Linked DNA regions of Homo sapiens: region 1 is linked to region 2. Evidence: promoter capture Hi-C in human tissues and cell types (Jung and others, 2019). All regions are on one chromosome and are shown on one strand. The core of a region is centred on a gene start or on the middle of the fragment in contact, and the rest is flanking DNA. Distances in the headings are between cores, read along the strand shown.

Region 1 (5,482 bases), core at 1,187-3,686, 710 kb before region 2:
ATAATCCTCCAGAGGGCCTCCAACACATTGCGATAGCGGGCAGCTGGGTCAGGCTGTAGACTCTGCATCCGGGTCTGAAATTACAGCAAGGAGAAGCGCAATGTCAGCAATGCCAACTTCTCGCCCCACCTCAACACACTGGGCAGACCTTCTACATGGAGCTGTGCCAATCTGTGAGAGGGATATCTGGCTTTCAGCTTATTTCCAATCTATAGCTGATCTTTCTTCTAAGCCTTGGACCTTTCTTTTTCTAGTCATCTATGACCCTAAGAATGGAACACCATTATTTTCCCTGAAAAAATAATCCCACCTATTGCTAAGTGTCCTGGTACTCCAAAATGATTCAGAGCCCCAGCAACAAATATCAAGCCTGTGTTTCAGAAGTTGCTTTTGTGCCTTAATACACTCAAGCTGACAGTTCTTTACAAATGGATTCTAAACTCCAGTATTTACTATCTATGACATACTTTATGCTGTATACCTAAAGAGTGCCCCTGGCCCTGCTTCATGACCACACACTGAGGGGCGGCTAATTTTTTTATACTTTTTCAGACTATCTGGCAATGGTGGCTGGGTCTACACAGAGTCTTGGCAGAAGCAGCATTCTTAATACATGCTTTTATTTCTTGGGAAAGAAAGTTTACCCTGAAACTGCAAAGGTGGGAGTGTCTAGCTAGAAACCAATCTAGTCTCCAATCCTGAAGGGCCCTTCCAGATTTCTAATTTAAACTGATTGAATCCCAAAATTGGCATTAGCAAATAAAATCAGTCTCAGTGAAACATAATCCTTGGAATCTCTCTAAAGGATTTGATGATTGGAATAAAAGCGTAGGGTAGACACTTTGTATGATGTTCTTGGACAAAGTTTTGTTGAAATTTGGGAAATTAATCTTATTCAAAACACCTCCCTAAATTAGACCTTTTCTGAAGAGTGTGTCTCCCCAGGAAAATTTCTCATCTACTGACCCAATTCAAGGTAAAGTAACATGGAAACTAATAGTTAATATAAAATCAATGTCTAAAAAGAAAAATCAATGTCTGGTGCCTGACACACAATAAGCACCTCTGATTTGTTTGCTAAATGAATGAATCTTTTGTCACATAACTGTATCAGCTACAATCACTGGTGAGCCAATGGAAGCAAGTGATGCCCAAGTACAGTTTAAATTTCTGCATCAATCTAATCACTAGATTCTATTTGGATTTAAAAGCTTGAACCTTCGGCCAGGCACGGTGGCTCACGTCTGTAATCCCAGCACTTTGAGAGGCCAAGGCGAGCAGATCACCTGAGGTCAGGAGTTCGAGACCAGCCTAGCCAACATGGTGAAACCCCGTCTCTATTAAAAATACAAAAAAATTAGCCGGGCATGGTGGTGTGCACCTGTAATCCCAGCTACTCAGGAGGCAGGAGAATCGCTTGAACCTGTGAGGCGGAGGTTGTAGTGAGCCTTCGCTGGTTTGAGCCACTGCACGGCAGCCTGGGCAACAAGAGCAAAACTCCATCTCAAAAAAAAAAAAAAAAAAAGCTTGAACCTTCCTCTTGGCCAACTGGAATCCAAGAGTAATACCTTTCCTCAAGAGCATGGGAGAAAAGAAACTAACCAGATGAACAGGTCCCGGTTAGCTGCAAGCAATCCACATTCCTCTGGTTATTTTCTCCTGCCTGCTACCAACAAAAAACCGGAAGCTTAAAAGGTTAGTTACTGGATGTTCAATCAGAAATACTCTACACAGTATCACTTATCACAATTTGACACATTCTTTCCTACTTCCCCCCACAAAACCTCATGTATTTCCAATAAAGGGTTTGTTTACTCATCTTTCACATCACACAAGGCATATAAAATCCATCAGAAGAGTTGTTCATAGAGACTACGGGTCATATGCTGGCTAGAGCTACTAATAAGCAAAGATAAATTGAGCCTCTTAGCTTATCGTGTTTCCATGCATTTATTCAAAACTGATCTTGTATAAGGGGAATGTTCAGCAATTGCATTGCTCTGCTGCAGTCAATGGTGTATTTGGCTACCAATTCTGAACGGTTTGGCTTCGGAGGCCTGGAACTCCTCACCCCCAAGAGAAAACCGGACTGTGGGAAGCTACTTTGAACATTCTATATACACATCTAAATCTAACTCAACAATTCTAACTCGATAAAAGTACACCCTTATGGAGAGGACCTGGGCATAAGCTATGCCAAATATAAAAATGAATATGGCTCCCCAAATTTGTGGGCCAATAAATCTGCCTTTTACAGAAAGATGAAATATCTAAGTAAGAATTTCTGAAAAACCTCAATGTGAAAAACTTCTACCTGGCTTTGGAGAAAAGCCAAACAACCCAGTAGAGAGGTAAGTGGTTTGGTAAAAGACAAGCCACATTTGAGTCAAAAAGCCTGAGTCTGAGCCTCAGCTTTGCTAGTTGTGTGATCTTGGGTATGTCACTTAACCTCTTTAAGCTTCAAAATTGTCATCTATAACATGAGGCCAAGAATGACTGGCTCACAGGGCTGTTGTGGGGATTAAAAGAGATAAGATATGTAAAAGCCATTGGTAATTTATAAGATGCTAGAAATACAAAGATTTTTATTGTATTCAAAATGATTCTATATTTGTTCATATCTAAGAATTTACAGATCATGGTAGCATTGCCTCCTGTATAAGTCATTTCACAAATATACATGGGCAACTAACTGTCCTTAGCCACCAATAAATCAGGGTTAATTTTGTATTTTTTGTTTTCCTTTTAAAGTTTCTCTGTGGCTATAATGATTTACATGTCCCACTATTAATCTGAAGGTCATATGTTCAGGGACAAGCTTTACTGTGAAATTCTGTGCCTTGCCTGGTTCTTGTAATCTGCTTTTGGGAAGCTATATGGAAGGCTTGAGAGTCTGATACACTGAGTTCAAATCATAACTGTGCTACTTAAACTGTGTGACCTTGGACAAGTTATATAACTTCCCTAAGCCTCCTTTCAACTGTAAAATAATGAAAATGGTTTCTACTTCATGAAGTTGCTTCACAGATTAAATGAATAAATGTATGTAAGGTACTTCAGATAGTGCTTGGCACACAAGATCACTGAATACTTATTACTAGATGCAAGAAAATCAAATAAGCTAATGTTTCCATTTCCTAATCTTTCACAGGTGAATATGTATAGATACCATTTACATCTGGAAATTGGAGATTTATCTCCCTCTGCTCTTCCCCTCTTTATTATATAAGTGGATATTTGCTTTACCACTTCAGAGCCAACAACAGCAGCTTGATGATAGGTGGGTACTTCGCCAGAGGATTTTGAGAAGGGTTCTGACTGTTTTGGGTTGCAGAATGTCCCCATAGATAAAGTCTGGCGCTTGCCTTTGAGGCCCAGAAAAGGAAACTGGGATTTATCTGGGCTCCCAAGCCTCTCCATTATAGCCATGGAAATAGCTGGTTGAATAACCATGATCCAGCAAGGCTACACTGACTTCTCATGGTCCCTCTCAAGGATATTTAAAGTCAACTTGACCCTGATAAGTAGCTGAGGATGGACAGGCCTGCATGTCAAAAGGCAATGTCAGCTTTCATTTGCAAACATTGTGGTTGCCCTTTAGGCTCCAACAACATGGATATCTGCCTCCAGTCTTAAAGACTGGGCTGCTTTTCCTCCCCACTCATCCACTTATTAAAAGAAGAAGGATAGCTGCTGGGGACAAGCAAACTGGGAAGTCTTTTCTGAAGGAAGAGATTTGAATTTTACTTTCATGCCTGCACAAAAGTGTTTAACATACTCACTGACACTAAATCATACTGGCCTCACCTAGTTCTTCCCTCTAAGTCATTTAAATCCCAGCATTAAGTGCAAGTGAAAATGAGCCTTCTAAAATAAGCTTTCGTATTGTTGACAACTCCTGAGCATTTTTTTCTCAAATCATTATTTCCTTAATAGAGGGCTTTCAGGCATAACTGCTATGTTGTATGACTAATTTTTAAAAAACAAAAATTCCAAAGTTTATGTAAATGAGTAAGAACTGTTCTTCAAAATAGTTACCTTGGAAGGCTACAATTGACTTATTCCAGCAAAGCTGTGGTTATGCAAAACCTTTCTGGAACTTCTCTTTCAGAGGTGTTTCCTCAACGGGTTTATAGGCCTCAGAAGTAAAGCAGTCTCCTTGCTTTCCAGTCCCACCTTATTTTGATGCCAAGCAGTATTACCCATTTTGACCTCCCACTTTATTCACCATATTTGATTCTGAATAGTCTTTGTTCTTGCAAAATCAATTCCATCTTGTCACAGGGCAAAGATTTGCCTCCCTTAAGGACATGCACCCAAATATTCTAGAAGCATTTTTAACAGGGATTTATAAAATGTTTATAGCAACAATAGCACTATGTAAATATATGGAGTAAGGAGATAACCTCCCGTTCTGTTATAATGGAACAGTGGTTAAATTGATAAGTTACAGTAATATTTCTAAGACAAATTATTACACTGTATTTTTCAAGCCATTACATAATTTTCACTGTTTTCATTGATCTGTTTTCCATTCAATACTCATCCAGAAAAACAGCATCCTAAACCCTGCACTCTACTCACAGTCTAAGTCTAGGGAGGTTACTCTGCAGCTAGATTATATTAACTTTTGGATATACGGCATTATTAACTCACAAGTCATTCAACCTAGAGTCTATACATATAATGTGTGCATCTTTTTTATTTATACTTGTTTTACATTTCAATGTTGTTACTTCTCTCTCATGGATTTTACAGTTTATTTCTATTTCTCCCAATTGACAAGGACATTTAACATTCTAATGTCCATTTTAGTCAAGTGCATTTACCCCGTTTTCAATGGATATGGCCCTTGTTAGGAGTTACCTTGTGTTAAAATACTCCTGCCAGTTTGCTGTCATTCACAAAGCTTAATGAGCGCTCCCCCCATTTCCTTATCCACATTCTAATGAAAAACATGAAACAGTACTGGAACCAAAGGGAAGTAAAAGGGATCTACTTTGCCTTTCCCAAGTTGATTCTCTCCTCCTTTTGAATACATAACACTTTCCTGATTTGAAGAGAAAACATACATCAAAAAGCTGCCAGGTCACTGTTTGACTATTACCCTTCACATGTAAAGGAGGCATCGGTCTTTGTCATATCAACAGTCCCCTCTAGTTTACCTCTCCCTCAATTCAGTCCTCACCTTTAATGGCTGGCACCTTTACTAATGTACAAGAATAAGAACTGTAAAGAACAATAATCTGTTTCTTTCTTCACCCAGCTTTCTTCAGAAGGACCTGACTTCAGTACACATAAATCATCCTGCTTGGTTGTGAATGCAATTAGTTTTACTTTCACAAGAATCGTGTCCTCTTGTTGATCTCTTTCCATTTTCTTCATACTTACATCTACTTTCTAATACCGTCACACTTCCTTTCTAGGCAACTTCTCCCTTTTTGCCAACTTCAGGTGGCCAAAGAAATATGCTATCAGTTTC
Region 2 (5,406 bases), core at 2,331-4,830:
CATTCTGAAATTGCTTTTAATATATGCCAGGCACTGAGTTGATGATTTCATGGCTATTATCTCACATAATCCTATTGGATTGGGTAAGTACGATGAGGAAACTGAAATTCAAAGAAGTTAAGCAAATTGCTTGAGGGCCCTCAGATGGTGAATGGCAGTGCACAGTGTTTGACCCAAACCTGTGCAAATTTGGAGCCCATGCCTTCAATCCCTACATAATACCATCTCTGAAAACCATAGTATTATGAATGACTAGTTTAAGAAAAGTACCATGATAAAATAGAAGTTATTTAACCTAGAGAACAGATGACCAAGGGCAAGCTATATTCATTCAAACAGTTGAAAGGTTGTCACTTCAGAGAGTAACAGGAACACCTCAGTAGTTGGCTTAATAGAAGAAAGTTCTGAAAAGGAAGTGAGCCTCTGAGGGGAAAGGCCCAAGTGTCTGTTATCTATGTGTTTCTCAGTCCAACGTCTGGCTCAGAGGAGGTGGCTCCATAAGAGGAAGGAAACAGAGCTGCCCAATAGTAGAATGGGTTGCCTCATGAAACAGTGACAGCCCCGCTGACACTCCCCAGGTTGGGCTGGTTGGCCACCTGACAGAGCACCATGGGAAGGATCACAGAGAAAGGATTCCACGTATTCTGCATCCTAAAATTAGATGAGCTCTAAACCCCTGTCTGCTCAAGGACTCTGTAATTACTGAACGAAGCCTGTGACTCAGATTTTGGCAAGTCACAGACCATCTGGCAATGCATCAGTGCACTGAGATCTTAGAAAGCAGAGAACATGAGTGGATTGGACTCCTGGACTTCCAGAACCCAAGCTTCCACCCTTTCCAGCTCCATACAATGGAGTTAGAAATGGTTCACTGTAACTCTGGGGAGCTAGAAACAGTCCTGTTCCAGAGGCTAATCTGGAAAGAGAGACGTTTAAGTCATTTATAGAGAAAGGCTCTGCCTGTGGGTTTCAGCTGCTGTCACGGGATCTGAAAAAGGAGATGACTTCTCCTTGCTAGCAGATGGTTAGGACAAAAATAATCGATACGTCAACAAATGAATTTCTGACAGCCATTTGCTGAAAGGAATTGAAAGGGCCCCACAATATGTACATTGGGCCGGCCGTTGTTCCTCACATGCACTGTGTCCTTTCACTCCCTGCAGAGTGGCCAGTGACAAACACAGAGGACTGTCCCCTCTGTCCAGCATGGAATGAGTTCCGATAGAGCACAGCCAGAACAAAGTGCTTTCTGCCAGCTTTCCTAGAGGGCTTGCACAAATGTGGGTGGCTCAAAAAATAAGACAACATTTCATCAACATTAATGTTATGAGACTCTTTGACTCCACTTTCAAAAGATTTATGCACCCTGACAAGAACAGAGTATTGCGGAGCCTAGAACACCTACTAATGAGGGCATCTTAGTTGTACGATTCAACCTACAGCTTTAATCAAAACACAACCCCACACACAACTATATTAAACTAGGCAAACATCACTTGTGCAACTTTTGAAAGAAGTAATAAACCAAATACAAAGTTGCTGTCATTACCTACAAGTCTAATAGCATCTGTTTGGTCCAATTTTATTATTATTTACGGTTCTTTGACTCTATCTTCCCACAGTCGCCCTCCTATCTTTTCACTTGCTTCTCTCAACTTAGAGATCAAAATTTCTCAGTTTGTGTCTATAGCTAGAGCCTCAATAAGCTTCCTCCAATGGCATGTGACATGGTGGTCTCTCACATGGGACCATCACCATACCATGTGTTTCCCTCCCTCTCTTAACAGGGATCTGAGATCTAAGGTCGCCTGGATCTTTTACTTCCTCTCTTTTTTCTTCCATCTTTTTCTCTGCCTCTAAAGAAACATGCATCGGATATAGTATAATAACTACGTGAAGCCCACCAAACTATCTTTCCAAACAGAAGGGAGTGGTTTTCCACTCTTTTTTTTTTTTGGAGACAGAGAGACAGAGTCTTGCTCTGTCCCCCAGGCTGGAGTGTAGTGGCACGATCTTGGCTCACTGCAACCTCTGCTCCTGGGTTTAAGCGATTCTCCTGCCTCAGCCTCCTGAGTAGCTGGGATTACAGGCACCTGCCACCCAGCTAATTTTTGTATTTTTAGTAGAGACAGGGTTTCGCCATGTTGGCCAAGCTGGTCTCAAAACTCCTGACCTCAGGTGATGTGCCCACTTCGGCCTCCCAAAGTGCTGGGATTACAGGCGTGAGCCACCGTGCCAGCCCACTCTCTACAGAAGGGTAAAATATTTTCACCTTTCACCTTTTCAGCCAATAGAAAACAATGGCTGCCAAAAACTGGTTTCCCCTTGTAATTCTTGACCAAACTGCCTTCCTCTACTGACAAATTCCTTTTAAACAAAATATCTTAAGCTGCAAAGGTAAATAGATGGGATTGGAATATTGTTATCTAAAGTTCCCGGATATAGCCTGCTTACACAGATAGATGCTCGCTCCACAGATGTTGCCCACAGGAATGTTTATACATATAGTGCACACATAGATGTTTCTCACAGACAGATGTACACAAACACAGATGCTACTCACGTAGACAGATGTCCACCAGGAACACAATATATACCAACAGCTCCCTCAGGGTGGTCTTGATATAAAGTTCCCGGTTCTCAGCTGTGTTCTCAGTCAGGGTTGTTCCCCAAAGTCCTAAGGGGCATGGGAGAGATGCCTGGGATGCTCAGTGGCAGTGTTCCTCCCAGTCATCCCCACCCATCTGTCTCTGGACTTTAGCCCCTTTCCACCCCTGCCCTTCCTTGCCCATCACCTTCATCCTTGGCTGAATCTGGCTACTGTACCCACACCCATGCTTGCTCTTCCCATCAGCTCCCTGAGGTCGACAGGGGTGAAGGCCCTGGCTTGTAGAGAATGAAGGCATGGAAAGGAGGCACCTGTTCCAGGTGGGGTAGTCTAGGGCATCATCACATCCATGTCCTCCCTCAAACCAGCTCCCACATACCTCTCTGGATCCCCAGGTGATGACCATGCCAGGCTCCCACAACCGGTAGACCGCTCAGCTGGCCTCTGTGTTCTGGGTCATGCAGCACTACCATGGGCAATTCATACACCCCAAAGTGACACCGAAAGGTCACCTCTTCTTCAGATCACATTCCACCCCCACCCCCTGCCCAAAAGCTTTTGGTGACTCCTCCTGATTCTAATATCCCAGGAGAACTGTCCCCCTATCTGGTACCTCTGATGCCTTGACAGATATGGAGGCAGCAGCTGGACACCTGGGTCCTGTATGCCGTCTCCTGGGGTTCATCTTCAGGCTTCTTGGGTTGGGGCTGGAGAGGCCCCGTGCTGGAGATGGTGCAGACTCTCAGCGTCCCGTGTGGGGAAGGGGGACCACTGTAGGCGGGGTTGTCCCAGGCTCCACTCCCCAGCTTTTGCAGCTCCTGCCCCTCAGGACTTCCCACAGCATTCATGGGGAATGAGGTGGGGGGGCCCGGTACCCCAGGTGCCCACTCTCAGCTAGAGGAAGAGGGAGCAGAGGCACAGCCCAGCCTAGCCAGCAGAGAGCAAATGGAAAGGCGTCTGAGAGCAGCTGTTTCCACACAGCCTGGGCTCCTGCCTTTTGTAGGGGGATGTCTGTGCCTGCTGGGGAGGGAGCGGATGAGAGGACAGGGTGGGGAAGGACCATCAATCCTGTCAGGAGCTCTCTCTCCCTCTTGCTGCAAGCCCCAGGGGACCAGCCGAAAGGGGAGGTGAGGGAACTGGAAGGTGGGGGTTTGAAGAGGGGAGAGGGGAGAATAGGAGGAGGATGTGGAGCTGGGAGTGGAAGGAGAAACGGGAGGAAAAGGCGATGCTGGGGATGAAGGGGGCTGCTCGCAGATGTGCCTGGTGGAGAGATGGCCCAGAGGTCGGACAGAAGAGACGATCAAAGAGCAATGGGAGGAGCTGAGACAGGAGGGGAGCCGGGGGCCTGTGCTGCGGGTCTGAGCTCATTTCCACTAAAAGCTCCTAAAAGGGCCGACATGGATTGGGGTGGGGACCAAGGCTGGGAGGAAAGCTGAAGAGCGCTGTCCCCCTCCCAGGCTCTGCCCACCTCCCAGGTTCAGTCAATGGGTCTGAGGCTCCTGTCCTGTCTCACCTTCAGCTGTCCCCTGGTGGAGCAGAGATGGGCAGCTCCCTTCCCTCACTTCACCCTCTCAGCCGTGGGGAAAGGACAGTGGCAGGAGGAACCCCAGTCTCACATACTTCAGGGCACTGAGGGGGCAGGGGAGAGGACCACAGAGTCCTAGGTTGTCTATATTCCTTGTTCTGAAGCTTGCCTTTCCATGGCTTACAGGTGAGATACACCAAGAGAGGGGGTTCCTTAAGGGTGTGGGGCTCAGTATGGGAAAAAGGCTAAGACCTGGTTGGGAGGCTGGATCGGAGAACAAAGGACAAGGACAGTATGATGTGGGACTAAAGGGGAGTGGATATCTGGACCCAGCTGAGCTGGGAACCTTTTCCCATGGCTCTGCTTAGTCCTGGGCCTAGAATCGTAAACTTGAGCACAAAGTGGAACTATCCATGATATCAGGATTAATCTGCTTTCTTTATAACTGCAGGTCTCTGAATTAAAACTGTGTCATGGGCCCCCAAGCACATCCCTGCCTATGCCCTGCTCCAGCTTCTGATCACCTGCTCCAGCTCCCCTATAGGCATGCATGATGCCCCAGAATGGGGCTGATCCCACAGGTTGTGGTGGTCACCCTGCAGTTTCTCCTCCTTGAGGCTAGAGCAGAGACTTTCCTCTCCTAACTCCTGGCTCCCCACCCAGGGCTACTCACTGGCCTGAAGCCCACCTTCACATTCAGCAAAACATCAGCCTTGTCAAAATAATCAGTCTTGAGTGTCCCTATAAAGAGATCTTGGCTGGGTGTGGTTGCCCACACCTGTAATTCCAGCACTTTGGGAGGCCAGGGCAGGAGGATCACTTGAGCTCAGGAGTTCAAGACCAGCCCGGGCAACATGGTGAAACACCGCCTCTACAAAACAACAACAAAACAACAAAAATTAGCCAGGCATGGGGTGCGTGCATGTAGTCCCAGCTGCTACTCAGGTGGCTGGGGTGGGAGAACCACTTGAGCTGGGGAGGCTGAGGCGTTGAGGCTGCAGTCAGCTGAAATCACACCACTGCACTCCAGCCTGAGCAACAGAGCAAGACCCTGTCTCAAGAAAAAAGAAAGAAAGAAAGATAACAAGTGTTGGCAAGGCTGTGGAGAAAAGGGGCCCCTTGTATGCTTGGCTGTATTGTAAATTAGTACGGACATCTTGGAAAACAGTATGGAGGTTCCTCAAAAAACTAAAAATAGAATTACCATATGTTCCAAGAATCTCAAAGGAATTGAAATCAGTGTGTTGAATAGATGTCTCCTCTCCCATGTTCA

What was found. The method cuts DNA at HindIII sites, captures the fragments that hold promoters and counts their contacts. A contact is called where the count stands out against the background at its distance.
Region 1: a fragment that was not itself captured here is called in contact with the fragment with the promoter of PKD2L1 in region 2 in 1 of the 25 tissues and cell types used here (dorsolateral prefrontal cortex).

Annotation. Positions count from the first base shown.
Region 1 is chr10:99,613,851-99,619,332 of GRCh38, forward strand. It overlaps SLC25A28 (solute carrier family 25 member 28), which reads right to left. Exons shown (of 4, transcript NM_031212.4): 2 at 1-74. Among named protein-coding and RNA genes, the nearest start is that of SLC25A28, 3.8 kb to the right of the region's middle. The HindIII fragment of the contact is 3,914 bases long and covers 480-4,393 here.
Region 2 is chr10:100,326,648-100,332,053 of GRCh38, forward strand. PKD2L1 (polycystin 2 like 1, transient receptor potential cation channel) reads right to left here and starts at 3,581. Exons shown (of 16, transcript NM_016112.3): 1 at 3,222-3,581; 2 at 2,564-2,677. The coding sequence starts at 3,456. RefSeq lists an enhancer at 600-719. The HindIII fragment of the contact is 2,587 bases long and covers 2,435-5,021 here.